2 separate regions of the Homo sapiens genome follow, and region 2 is linked to region 1. The links are contacts of gene promoters, found by promoter capture Hi-C in human tissues and cell types (Jung and others, 2019). All regions are on one chromosome and are shown on one strand. Each heading gives the region's core, a stretch centred on a gene start or on the middle of the fragment in contact. The rest is flanking DNA. Distances are from core to core; before and after follow the strand shown.

Region 1 (6,368 bases), core at 2,020-4,519:
CCTAATTCCACCACCTTAGTCCATAACCACACCACCTTTCATCTTAAGAGTCGTGATATATCTGTGTGGCTTGTCCAAAACTGCAAAATCATTCAGCTGTACTGCTGAGGCAGATATCCGAGTCTTCGGACTAGGGTATTTCCTCCTGTTTCTTCACACCTGGAATACTTGCAAATCTTCTAAACTAGTTCTCCTTTCATTAATTCATCAGATATCTAGTACATACAAGGGATATGACAGGTATTCTGGGGAATATGGGCTGAAGAAATAGTCCCTAATCTTAAATGTCTAGAATATAAGGGAATAAAGGTGTAGACACAAATAAACCTAATGTAAGACATGGAATAGTAAGAGTTATTTACATAAAATTCCACAGACTACAGAAGAAAGTTCATTTACAGCTGGGATAATTTGGGAGGTGAAATTTGGGGTGGGCCTCAATGGATGACTAAGATTCCAATCAGCAGAAATGGGAGAACTGGCATTATTCCAAACCAAGAACATACAGAAGAAAGTTCATTTATAGCTGGGATAATTTGGGAGAAGGTGGGATTTGAAGTAGGCCTCAATGGATGATTAAGATTTCATGGCCGGGCGCAGTGGCTCACGCCTGTAATCCCAGCACTTTGGGAGGCCGAGGCGGGCGGATCACGACGTCAGGAGATCGAGACCATCCTGGCTAACACGGTGAAACCCTGTCTCTAATAAAAATTTAAAAAAAATTAGCCCGGTGTGGAGGCTGGCGCCTGTACCGAGATCGCGCCACTGCACTCCAGCCTGGGCGACAGAGCGAGACTGCGTCTCAAAAAAAAAAGGTTTCAATCAGCAGAAATGGGAGAACTGGCATTATTCCAAACCAAGAACATACGCAATTACCACCAAGGGGCAAGCAAGTACAGTGACGCAGTAGTCTAGTTTACCTATAAGATAAATAATGAGCAAAGCTGTAAAGGAATAAGACACAGATATTATGGAGGCTGTGAATAACAGGCTGAGAGCCTGAACAAAAGCAAGGTCTGGGGCAGACTACCTGGATACAAATCCTAGCTTCTTCCCTTAACTGCTGTGTGACCTTAGGCAAATTACTTAGCCTCTCTGCTGAGCCTCAGTTTCCTCATCCATAAAATGAGACTAATGGTATCTACCTCACAGGACTGTTAAAATAATTAAATTAGTTAATACATATAAAGCACTAAACACAGGATAAGTTCTGCAGTAAATTATGATGTAGCCAATAAGAAGTAAAATGAGATTTAGATAGAGGACTAACAATATAATCAAAGTAGTGCCTAAGGGAAAGTCACCTCTGAAGATGGAATGGGAGCATGCTAGCCGGCACTACACATCAACACTCCAACCATTAAGTACTTTTGAGACTGACCGAGGGAGACAGAAACAAAAAATAAATTCCTGGGAAATACTGTGGAAGCCAGCCTCCAAGGTGGCCCCTGTGATCCCCACCTCCTGGGGACCCTCTATAGTCTCCTCATACATTGTACCGGGTTGGTCCATGTAATGAATAGACAGGAGATGGGATGTCACTTCTGAGTTTAGGCTATAAAAGACACGGGGACCGATATCTTGTTGCTCTCTCTCTTGCTCTTGGGAAAGCCAGGACCCTGTTGTGAGCTGCCCTATGCAGCTGTCAAGAAACAACCACGTGAGTGAGCTTGGAACTGGATTCTCCAGCTCCAACGACCCTTTATTTGACTGCAGCCTTGTGGGAGATCCTGAACTACAACCACTTAGTTGAGCCGTTCTCAGATTCCTGAGTCTCAGAAACTCTATGATATAATAAACATTTGTTATGAACTGCTTCAGTTTTCAGCAACGTATTACACAATAGACAACTGTACGACTACTAAAAAAAATTGAGTAAAAAAAAAGAGTCTTGAAAAATGACAAGATGAAGAGACCAGAAGTGAACGTCAATTCAAAAATACTAAGATTTCTAAGTCAAGAGAAACTGTTAGGGCCTGGAGGACTAAGGGTGAGATGATGATTATGTGATGCACTAAGTTTGAGCTCTAGGGAAAGATCTAATATAGATCTGAAAGTCATCTATATAGTTAACTTCAATGTATGACATTGTCCAAAGCAAATATGGAACATGTGAAAAAGCACAAGGTCAAAAATTAGAACATGGCACGAACACAGTAAAGAGAAGAAAATGAGCTGTTGCAAGACAGGAAAACAATCATGGATGTTCCAAAAGAAATAAAAGCAGGTGGTGAATGTGTCAAACGCTCCAATGATCAAGTAAACAACTTACACTGGATTTAGCAAATTTATATATTTCCTTGATTTTTTTCACACATTAATGCTTCAGAAATCAGACTGTATCTTATAATCAAGAGGTGCCTGAAATGAATTTCTTTATTCCCTAAAGCCAGTCACAAAACTGATAGTGTGGGCTGATAATCAATGGTATTTGAGAAGCGAGAAAGCATGGTAGTGGTAAAGAAGTTGAACCAGTATATGTGGTCTATTTTTTCCAGGAAGTTTTCAAGTAAAGGCAAGAGTCAAGAAAGGAGGTCCTGTGTTTGCTTTTTAAAAACCGTTTTACTATGAGACAAACGTATTTGAAAGCAAGGAAGTTAGAAGAAACTTTAAAACGATAAAGGACACATGCCATGACAAGCACAATTAGCAGAACAAAAAAGGATGCACTCGCGGATACAGGTGCAATCAAACACCATTCAAGCAACGATTCCTAGGCACCCGCTCCCGTTCTGGAACCCGAGGCAGCGCGGTGCCCACGGATTGGGCAGTCAGCCGCACAGTCCCCTCCGAGTGCGGCAGGAAGAGAGACAGAGTTGACAGTGGATTATCCGCGGAGACGGGTAAAACCACGCCAGGATTCCCTGCGGTTTGGTACATTACACCAGAATCAAAAAGAGACAAGAGTAAGGCCAAGTACCCCCGAGGCGGACATATGCTCCCGCCCGCTGCGTCCCTCGGCGGTCCCACCCCTCGCTTTCCGTACCGCCGCTGAGGGCCCGGCCCGCACGCCTGGACCGGAGCCGGACCTGGGGGCGGTACCCCACTGCGCGGGCTTGCTCCACGCGCGCAGACGGGACCCGCCACCACCTAGCCCTTCACCCCCAACGCCCACCCTCTCTCACCCCAGCACAACGGGGCCAGCCCCGCGCCGGCCCGCCGCTTCCCCGCAACGCGGGAAACGGCGCGGCGCCCACTCCCGCCCCAGAGCCTACCTTAGAGCCCCGAGCGCGGCTGCCGCGGGGCATCTCCGGGAGCGCCGCCTGAGCGCACCGCCTCCTCAGCGCGCCGCCGTCCCACCTCGGCGCGCCGCACCGCGCCCTGCCATTGGCGGGCGCTCGGGCGCAGGGCGGGGCTTCGGCGGGGGGCAGGGCTTCTCCGGCCCCGGCGCTCCAGGGCCTCCCGGATGGCCTAGTCGGGCCCGGAGCCCGGAAGGAGTGCCCCGCGGAGAGTCGAGCTTCCTTCCCCGGGGCTGGGGGTTCCGCGGAGCTCGCTCTGGGCTGTGGCGTTGCTCGCCCGCGAGCTCCTGGGGAGTTCGGGGGAGCTGCTGGGCTGGTGCCTGGAGCGGGGGCCGCCTCCAAGTATTGTCTTTCGAATTAAGTTACTGTCGTCTGTGTTGTCAGGCAACAACTGACCTTAAATAAAAATGAAAACCAGAAGTAGGCTACACATGCAATAGGCTACACATGCAATAATGGATACTTAAGGAATGGGAGTGGCTGCTGGTGACTGGAGCAGAGAGGGTGTGGTTTCCCCATGTTTCGGGGCCGGGGGGAAGGAGTAAAGTCTGTGTTCAGAGCCCAGACGCCATGTCGGTCATCACATCACCGGGAGAACTCGTGGAGCCTGAGGAAAGGCTACGGGGTGCCAGAGTCTGAAGGGGCGGAAGATTGCATTCCTATCACGTTCGCCGTGGCGCACAGGGGCTCCGCTGGGGCCGCCGCTCCCGCAGGAGAAGTGGGCCTGAGACGGTGCGGCGTCGACCATAGCCGGCCCAGCAGAAGCCGGGGAAGGCCACAAGTGTAACTGGGTCCGAGTACTGTGAAGAAGGCGCCTCCCATGGAGAAAGCTACCGGGTAGTTTAACAAGGTGGAAAAGCGTTGGCCTGGGGAGGAGGAAAGGATGCTCAGAAAGTTGCCTCAAAAGGACGCAGAAGTGGAGGTGAATCTTCTGTTTCAGAGGCATTTTTTTGTGCCTCTGTGAGAATGCATTGCTTCCTGGTTGATCCATCTTCAGGTTTTCTCTCCGTCCTAGTCCCTGTTCTGCCACCATTCTGTGTTTGAATCTGGTACCTAAAGCCGCAGATACTTGGTTCATAGTAGATGTCCACTCTGCAGTGGCTGAAAACACGGAAGAAAAACCATCTTTGCCTGGGAAGGACATTATTGCTAGTGCCATTACTGTCAACAGTTGGAACAAGATAAACGGCATGCCCAATCTAGTTGAGGATTTTGGACACCGGGCCTCCCACTGGGACTCCGCCGAGAAACCAGGTCTGCCATTGCCACCTCCGCCGGGCCTTGCTGTCTTAGCACAGTAAGTGCACCCGACCGCGCCCGGAGTCCCCCTTTCACTCCCACAACCAGGCCTGTGGTGAGGCTCCCGCTTGTCATCTCCACCAGGAGGTGCTGTCCTGCCGAAATGTTGGGGTTTTTCTCCAAACTTCCTCCTGTTCAGAATTCGCCATCTCAGTAGTGGCATGGACATCCACCTGGCCACAGCTCACGCAGAAACCTAGGAATTTTTGTGAACACGTTTGTGTGTCTTACTAATGTGTCCACTCTCCACTACCACTGTTTCCCAGGCCACTAGTATCTTTTGCCCAGACTGCTAGTAGCTCTTAACCCATGTCCCCTAATCCACTCTTGCCCCTCACACAGCACACACATACAATCCATTCTCAACACAGACACCACAGTGAGGTTTATGCTGTCTATACTGGCCTTCCCTTTCGGTGGTCAAACGTGCCTAGCTCCTGCAGCCTTGGGGTCTAATAAGCATTTGCTCTTCCTTTTGCCTAAAAGGCTCTGGCCTCCCTCTGCCATGCCATTTCCTATGCGCCTGTCAAACCTGAACCTGGTGGCCAGCTTCCCTAAACTAGCAAGCCTGAACCTCCCTGCTCTTCCATGTCCGCAGGACCTCATGCTCTGTTGAAGATGTTATAACAATTAGAATCTAAATAATTACGAAAGTTATTTGTTTACCATGTGGTTCCACCTCCATGCTGTAAGGTAATACCATTTCTATCTTCTCCGTTTTTGTATCTCTATCAGTTAGCACAGCGTCTTCCATATACAAAGTACTCAGTTATTTACTATGGATGAACTGCTAATTGTGAAACAGAAATGACTTGCCAGAGGCTGCACAGCTAGTAACTGTTCAGGATTAGAACTCATATGTGATACCAAGGTCGATGCATTCTCCACTACACCAATCAGATCATAGTAGAATCATGAGGAATTTTTCACTTGAACATATGAACTCAGCAAAAGGGAACTGTTGATAATAAAGATGAGCCCCTGCAGAAAGGGTCTCTTAAGTCCTCTCCAGTCTTGCCTCATTTCCTCCTCAGCAAACACTCAATGGCAAACATCAAGACAAACCAGAAAGTCCTTCTTTTAACTTTTTTCTCATCAAACTTTTTGGCCTAGTTGCTGTTCTGCAGATATCTGTGGTCTTCACTCTGCTTACAGCCATCCTAAGGATTCCATGGAGATCCATGGAGTCTGGGGAGGGTGTGACTCACAGGAGGGTCTCTGCTGCACCTTCAGGGCAGCTCTCTTCCATCTGTCTTATATATGGGGCAAGATTGTATTTAAAGAAAGATCTAATATGGGGAGAAATGTTTAGAATCTACTCATCCATATTCTTTTTTAGTCTGGTAGATGACAGTGCTCTAGGCTATAAATGAATCCAAGATTTAAACGTGAAAAAATGTCAAGGTATTAGAATAAAACATGACCAGATTCCTTTATAATCTTAGAGTGGGGGAAAGGGGAGAAAGTCTTTCCAACTATGACTCAAAATGTCCTAGTCGTAATAGGAAAGATTGATCGATTCAACTACATAAAAACCCTAATTTATGCATGGCAAAAAAAACACAGTAGGCAAAGACAAATGGCAAAATTAAAGAATAGTTCATATTGATGTTATATAGAAACAGCCCCCTAAAGTATAAATTACTCTTGGAGGAGTAAGCAAGAGTATTCCTTGGGGGAAACCCAGTAGAAAATGGGCAAAGGACAAGGGCAGTTCACAGAGAAAGGAACACAAATGGCTTTTATACATATGAAAAATGTACTGTCTCACTCATGACAAGAGAAATGCAAATTTAAACTGCACACCTACCATATTGGCTAAAATCTAAG
Region 2 (5,923 bases), core at 1,497-3,996, 91 kb after region 1:
ACAGAGTCTCACTCTATTGACCAGGCTGGAGTGCAGTGGTACAGTCTTGGCTCACTACAACTTCTGTCTCCTGGGTTCAAGCAATTCTCGTGCCTCAGCCTCCCAAGAAGCTGGGATTACAGGTGCGTACCCCCATGCCAGGGTAATTTTTTGTAATTTTAGTAGAGACGGTTTCACCATGTTGGTCAGGCTGGTCTCGAACTCCTGACCTCAGGTGATCCGCCCACCTCAGCACTCCCAAAGTGCTAGGATTACAGGTGTGAGCCACCGTGCCCGGCCTCTAGTCATAAATTCTTTCCCAAGGCTGATGTCCTGAATGGTATTTCCTAGGTTTTCTTCTAGAGTTTCCCGGCTGGGAGTTGCAATTCTTATATCAGATAAAACAGACTTTAAACCAATAAAATTAGGTAGGACAAGGAAGGGCATTATTACATAATGATAAAGGCTAACAAGAAGACTTAACTATTAAAGTCTTACACTTAAATCTTTGATCCAGTGGCAAGATAGATATAAAGCTAGATATAAAGACAAGACCCAACCATCATCAAGAGATTAATCTCACATGTAACAGTATCCACAGGCTCAAAGTAAAGGGGTGGAGAAATGTCAACCAGGTAAGAGTCGCTGTTCTTTTTTTTTTTTTTTTTTTGAGATAGGGTCTCTGTTACCCAGGCTTGAGTGTAGTGTTGTGATTACGGCTCACTGCAGCCTCAACCTCTGAGGCTTAAGTGATCCTCCCACCTCAGCCTCCAAGTAGCTGGGACTATAGGCATCTGCCACCACGCCTGGCTAATTTTTGTAGAGATGGTGTTTTGCCATGTTGCCCAGGCTGGTCTCCAGCTCTTGAGTTCAAACAATCCACCTGCCTTGGCCTCACAAAGTGCCTGGATTATAGGCATTAGTGACTGCATCTGGACTAGAAGTTGCAATTCTTTATTTATTTATTTATTCATTTATTTATTTTGAGATAGAGTCTTGCTCTGCCACCCAGGCTGGAGTGCAGTGGTGCGATCTCGGCTCACTGCAACCTCTGCCTCCCAGGTTCAAGCGATTCTTCTGCCTCAGCCTCTCGAGTAGCTGGGACTATAGGTGGGTGCCACCACGCCCAGTTAATTTTTGTATTTTTAGTAGAGATGGGGTTTTGCCATGCTGGCAAGGCTGGTTTCGAACTCCTGACCTCAAGTGATCCACCCACCTCGGCCTCCCAAAGTGCTGGGATTACAGGTGTGAGCCACCGTGCCCGGCCGGGAGTTGCAATTCTTATATCAGATAAAACAGACTTTAAACCAATAAAATTAGGTAGGACAAGGAAGGCAGTATTACATAATGATAAAGGCTAACAAGAAGACTTAACTATCCTAAATATATGTGCACCCAACACTGAAGCACCCAAATTCATAGCACAAGTTTTTCTTGTCCTACAAAATGACATAGACAACCACACAATAGTAGTGGGAGACTTCACCTCCCCACGGAAGCGTTAGTCGGATCATTAAGGCAGAAAATTAACAAAGAAATGTGGGACTTAAACTCAAAACTTGACCAATTAGACCTAATAGTCTTCTACAGAATCCTCCACTCAACAACCACAGAATACACATTCTTCTTATCTGTATGTGGAACGTATTTTAAGATGAACCATATGCTCAGCCATAAAGCAAGTCTCAATAAATAATTAAAAAAACCCTGAAATTGTACAAAGCACACTGTGAGACCACAGTGCAATAAAAATATAAACCAATAGCAGTTAAGATCTCTTAAAACAACACAAATACATGGAAATTAAACAACTTGTTCCTGAATAAATCCTGGGTGAACATTGAAATTAAGGCAGAAATAAAAAAACTTTGAAATTAATTAAAATAGGCACATAGCTTACCAGAGATTTCTGGGATTTCTCTTCACACAAGTAAAGCAGTGTGAAGAGGAAGTTTATACCTCTAAATGCCTTCATCAAAAAGTCAGAAAGATCTCAAATTGACAATTAACTGGGCACCTAAAAGAACTTGGGAACCGAAGAACCAACCAACCCCAAAGCTTGTAAGAAACACATAAATACCTAAAATCAGAGAAGAACTTAATGAAATTGAGATGCAAAAATCTATACAAAAGGTTAATGAAACCAAGAGTTGCTTCTCTGAGAAAAATAAACAATATTGATGCACTGCTAGCTGGATTAAAGATCCAAATAAGTAGAATTGGAAATGACAAAGATGGCATTACAACTGTTCTTACAGAGATGAAAGGGACCCTCAGAATACTATGAACAATTCTATACAAACAAATTAGAAAATCTGGAGGAAATGGATACATTCCTGGAAATATACAGTCTCCTAAGATTAAATCAGGAAGAGATTGGAACCTTGAGTAGACCAATACTGAACCCTGATTGAAACAGTAATATAAAACCTAGCAATGAAAAAAGTCCCTGGACCTGATGGATTCAAAGCCAAATTCTGAATTCAAAGCCTTTCTGAAACTACTCTAAAAAGTCGAGGAGGAGAGACTCCTCCTTAATTCATTCTATGAAACGAGCATCAGCCTAACACTAAAATCTGGCAGAGACATGACAAAGAAAAAAAATTTCAGGCCAATATCCCAATGAGCATAGAAGAAGAAATCCTCAACAAAATACTAGCAAACTGAATCCAGCAGCACATTGAAAAACTAATTCACCTTGATCAAATAGACTTTATTCCAGGGATGTTGGTTCAACATCTGCAATCGGTAAGTGTGATTCCCTGTATAAACAGATTAAAAGCAAAAACCATATGATTATCTCAATAGACGCAGAAAAATCTTTTGATAAAATCTTAACACCCCTTCATGATAAAAACTCTCAACAGGCTGGGCACGGCGGCTTATGCCTCTAATCCCAACACTTTGTGAGACTAACGTGGGAAGATCACTTGAGCCAAGGAGTTCAAGGCCAGCCTGAGCAACATAGTGAGACTCCCGTCTTTCAAAAAATAAGATAAATTAGCCAAGCATGGTGGTGCATGCCTGTAGTCCCAGCTACTCAGGAGGCTGAGGCAGGAGGATTGCTTGAGCCAAAGAGATGGAGGCTGCAGTGAGCTGTGATCATGCCACTGTGCTCCAGGCTGGGCAACAGAGACCTTGTCTCAAAAGATAAAATATAAAATAATAAAATATAGTAAAATATAAAATAAAATATGAGTTGCGCAGTAGATAATACAAAAGAGGTGGGAAGCTTATCTCCAGTGGAGCTTCCTGTTGCACCTGGCGGTCTTGGCTCATAACTTGGCACCTCTAAGCCCTGGGAAGGGCAGTATGGGTCAGTATTTTGTGCCAGGGCTCCATGGAGGAATGAGGAGAGGGCTGGCTGTGGAGACTTGGGGAGCATCCTGGGGATGGGGAGATGGGGAGCTCTGGAGAATGATGGGATAAATGACAGTTATGCTGAAACTTTGTGTTCTAATTCAGGGAAACACATGTGGCTTGAGGGAATTCTGTATTTGGAGATTTATGGCCAGACACCAGCAGAGTGGGAGTTTGTCACTGGTAGAAAAGGAGTCAGGAAACAGATGATGTGGCTTCACAGAGTCAGATGTGGAGAAGAATATGGCAGAGGGTGAGGAAGCAGGGAGAGGCCCTAGGCAGATGCTCAGATTCCCTGATCCTGCCTCTATGTGCTCCACATGGCCTTGGCTGGGAGACCCCAAAGAGTCTCTGCTGTGACAGATTTCATTGATTGCTCACAGCAGTCCTGGGAGTGCTGAGATAACTACTAGATAAAAACGCTGAAGGATTATCTGTCAGACATTTCTTTATTTTTTATTGATACAATGTCTCTGTTGTCTAGGCTGGAGTGCAGTGGTGCAATTTCGGCTGACTGCAACCTTGACCTCCCTGGCTCAGGTCATCCTCCCACCTCAGCCTCCCAAGCAGCTGGGACTACAGGTGCGCACTACTATGGCCAGCTAGTTTTTGTATTTTTTTTTTTTGTAGAGACAGAGTTCCTCCGTGTTGCCCAAGGTGGTCTTGAATTCCTGGACTCAGGTGATCCACCTGCTTTGGCCTCCCAAAGTGCTGGGATTACAGGTATGAGCCACTGCACCATTTTTTTAAAATTACATATTATTTATATCTTTTTATATAGTTAAAAAACTATCCCATCAAAATTCTATGCACATATTTATTAGGCCCTTAGAAGTTTCTGTGGGACAATTGTGTTGATTCAAACACACACACACACACACACACACACACACACACACACACAAATTGAGTATATTTAAGGAGAAATGCAGCAAGAATGTCTCCATCCAAGGCCACTGTTTTTAGGAGAGCAGGCTTTCTGGGGCATCTGAAGCCTCAGAGAGCCTGGTGTCTGTCCCCAGAGGTGCCTAAATAATTGAATGATGGACCACTGAGGGAGGAGAGTCATGGGCAGGTCTGGGTCTCACCTGTTCTCCAGCCAGGAGCCCTGTGTGAGCGCTCAATTTGCTGTCGCAGAAATGTGGGAAGTGTCTGGCCATTCTTATCCCATGATTAAGGCATGGCTGGCATTATGTACGAATGTATGGTGTATGCCCAACACCATATATGTACAGGCAAGCTTTATTATGCATGAACTGGATTTCACATAAAGTGGTAATTTTATTTAAAAGGGAGTCATTAAAAAGTGTAAATATCACAGTGTGGATATATGTTATCTAAAACTCCAAAAGGTAGTGAAACTGGTAACAAACTACTTCTCATCTTTGGACAGATACAACAACAGCATTAATGAAACTGGTTGCCAGACAAGTATGTACCACTTGCTCCTGTGCCTTAGGAAGAGAGGATGTTATAACATAGGCATTTTGATGCAGGGATTCATGGATAGTTGTTCCCTATTAACAATGCTAAAATTAAGTTCACATTTTTTACTTTGTGTGGGAACTGAAGACTCTTGTTCTTTTGAGGGCTACCTTTCAAGGTGTTGACCTCAAAGCCACTTGTTCCAAAATGCACCAGAGATGGGAATTTAAACCTCTTCACAAAGCAAACCACTGGTAATTCGTAGGAAGTATCCAACATTGTTTTACAACTGATCTCCAATAATATGGCAAACATCATTTCTTTGGAACACAATTTTCTTCATCCCACAAGAAGTTACAGGATAACAAAACTGGTAGTTAAATGACAACAGTCTTGTTACAAGACAGTTATTTCCCAGATGTATGTCACCAGTTCTAATTTCACAGCACTGGGGCCATGACCATGAGGTGGAACCATCCTGCGTTGCACACTGTGACCAGCAGGGGCGTTCAAACTGCCTTTTCTGCCCTTAATGGTGCACATGGGTGTTCTACCTGCAGGCACCGTGTGGCAGGTGTGGCGTCCACAGTGAGGAGAAAGTGAAGCACTCCAGGTCCCTCAGGACTTGCTGGACGGGACACTGCGGCAGCTTTGGGATGACTTGGGACTGCGCCCTTGGGAAGAGACAGCTCCTATCCACTGTGCTGACTGCTGAGGAGGGAGCTTCCTTGCAGTTTCGCCTCAGCGCAGCTCCTCAGCTGTTTTTTCTTCATTGTGAGTATAGAAGCTTTCATTTTGTGGAATGTTCTGTTATTCCCATCAGGTTCTCACTCATTTTCCTCTTTTTCTGTTAGTATTTTAGTGTGTATTTTACAGTAGTATTCATTCCCCTAGGGCTTTTGAGGGTGGCAGCATAGGAGGCTGTAGAATTTTAGGCTTTAGGACTTTTTCTGAGGGAAACTCCTATGTAGATTGAGAGAGAGGGAAACTGTCTGTGGGAGGAAGGGGAAGCCTGGCCCAGGATGGGTGTCGGAGCCACACCCTGCTTGATTGTGCTGCATCCAAGCCTCAGGTGGAAGGAAAAGAATCCCAGCCACCTCCAGAGTTTGCTGATTTTTATTTTTTTTGAGACAGGGTCTGGCTCTGTTGGCCAGGCTGG

What was found. Contacts are between HindIII fragments. The study calls those that stand out against the background at their distance.
Region 2: a contact is called between a fragment that was not itself captured here and the fragment with the promoter of SPIDR in region 1, in 2 of the 25 tissues and cell types used here (adrenal gland and spleen).

Annotation. Positions count from the first base shown.
Region 1 is chr8:47,257,839-47,264,206 of GRCh38, reverse strand. It overlaps SPIDR (scaffold protein involved in DNA repair), which reads right to left and starts at 3,269. Exons shown (of 20, transcript NM_001080394.4): 1 at 3,216-3,269. The coding sequence starts at 3,248. RefSeq lists a silencer at 3,006-3,555. The HindIII fragment of the contact is 26,545 bases long and covers 1-6,368 here.
Region 2 is chr8:47,166,879-47,172,801 of GRCh38, reverse strand. No RefSeq gene overlaps it. Among named protein-coding and RNA genes, the nearest start is that of SPIDR, 91 kb to the left of the region's middle. The HindIII fragment of the contact is 4,639 bases long and covers 427-5,065 here.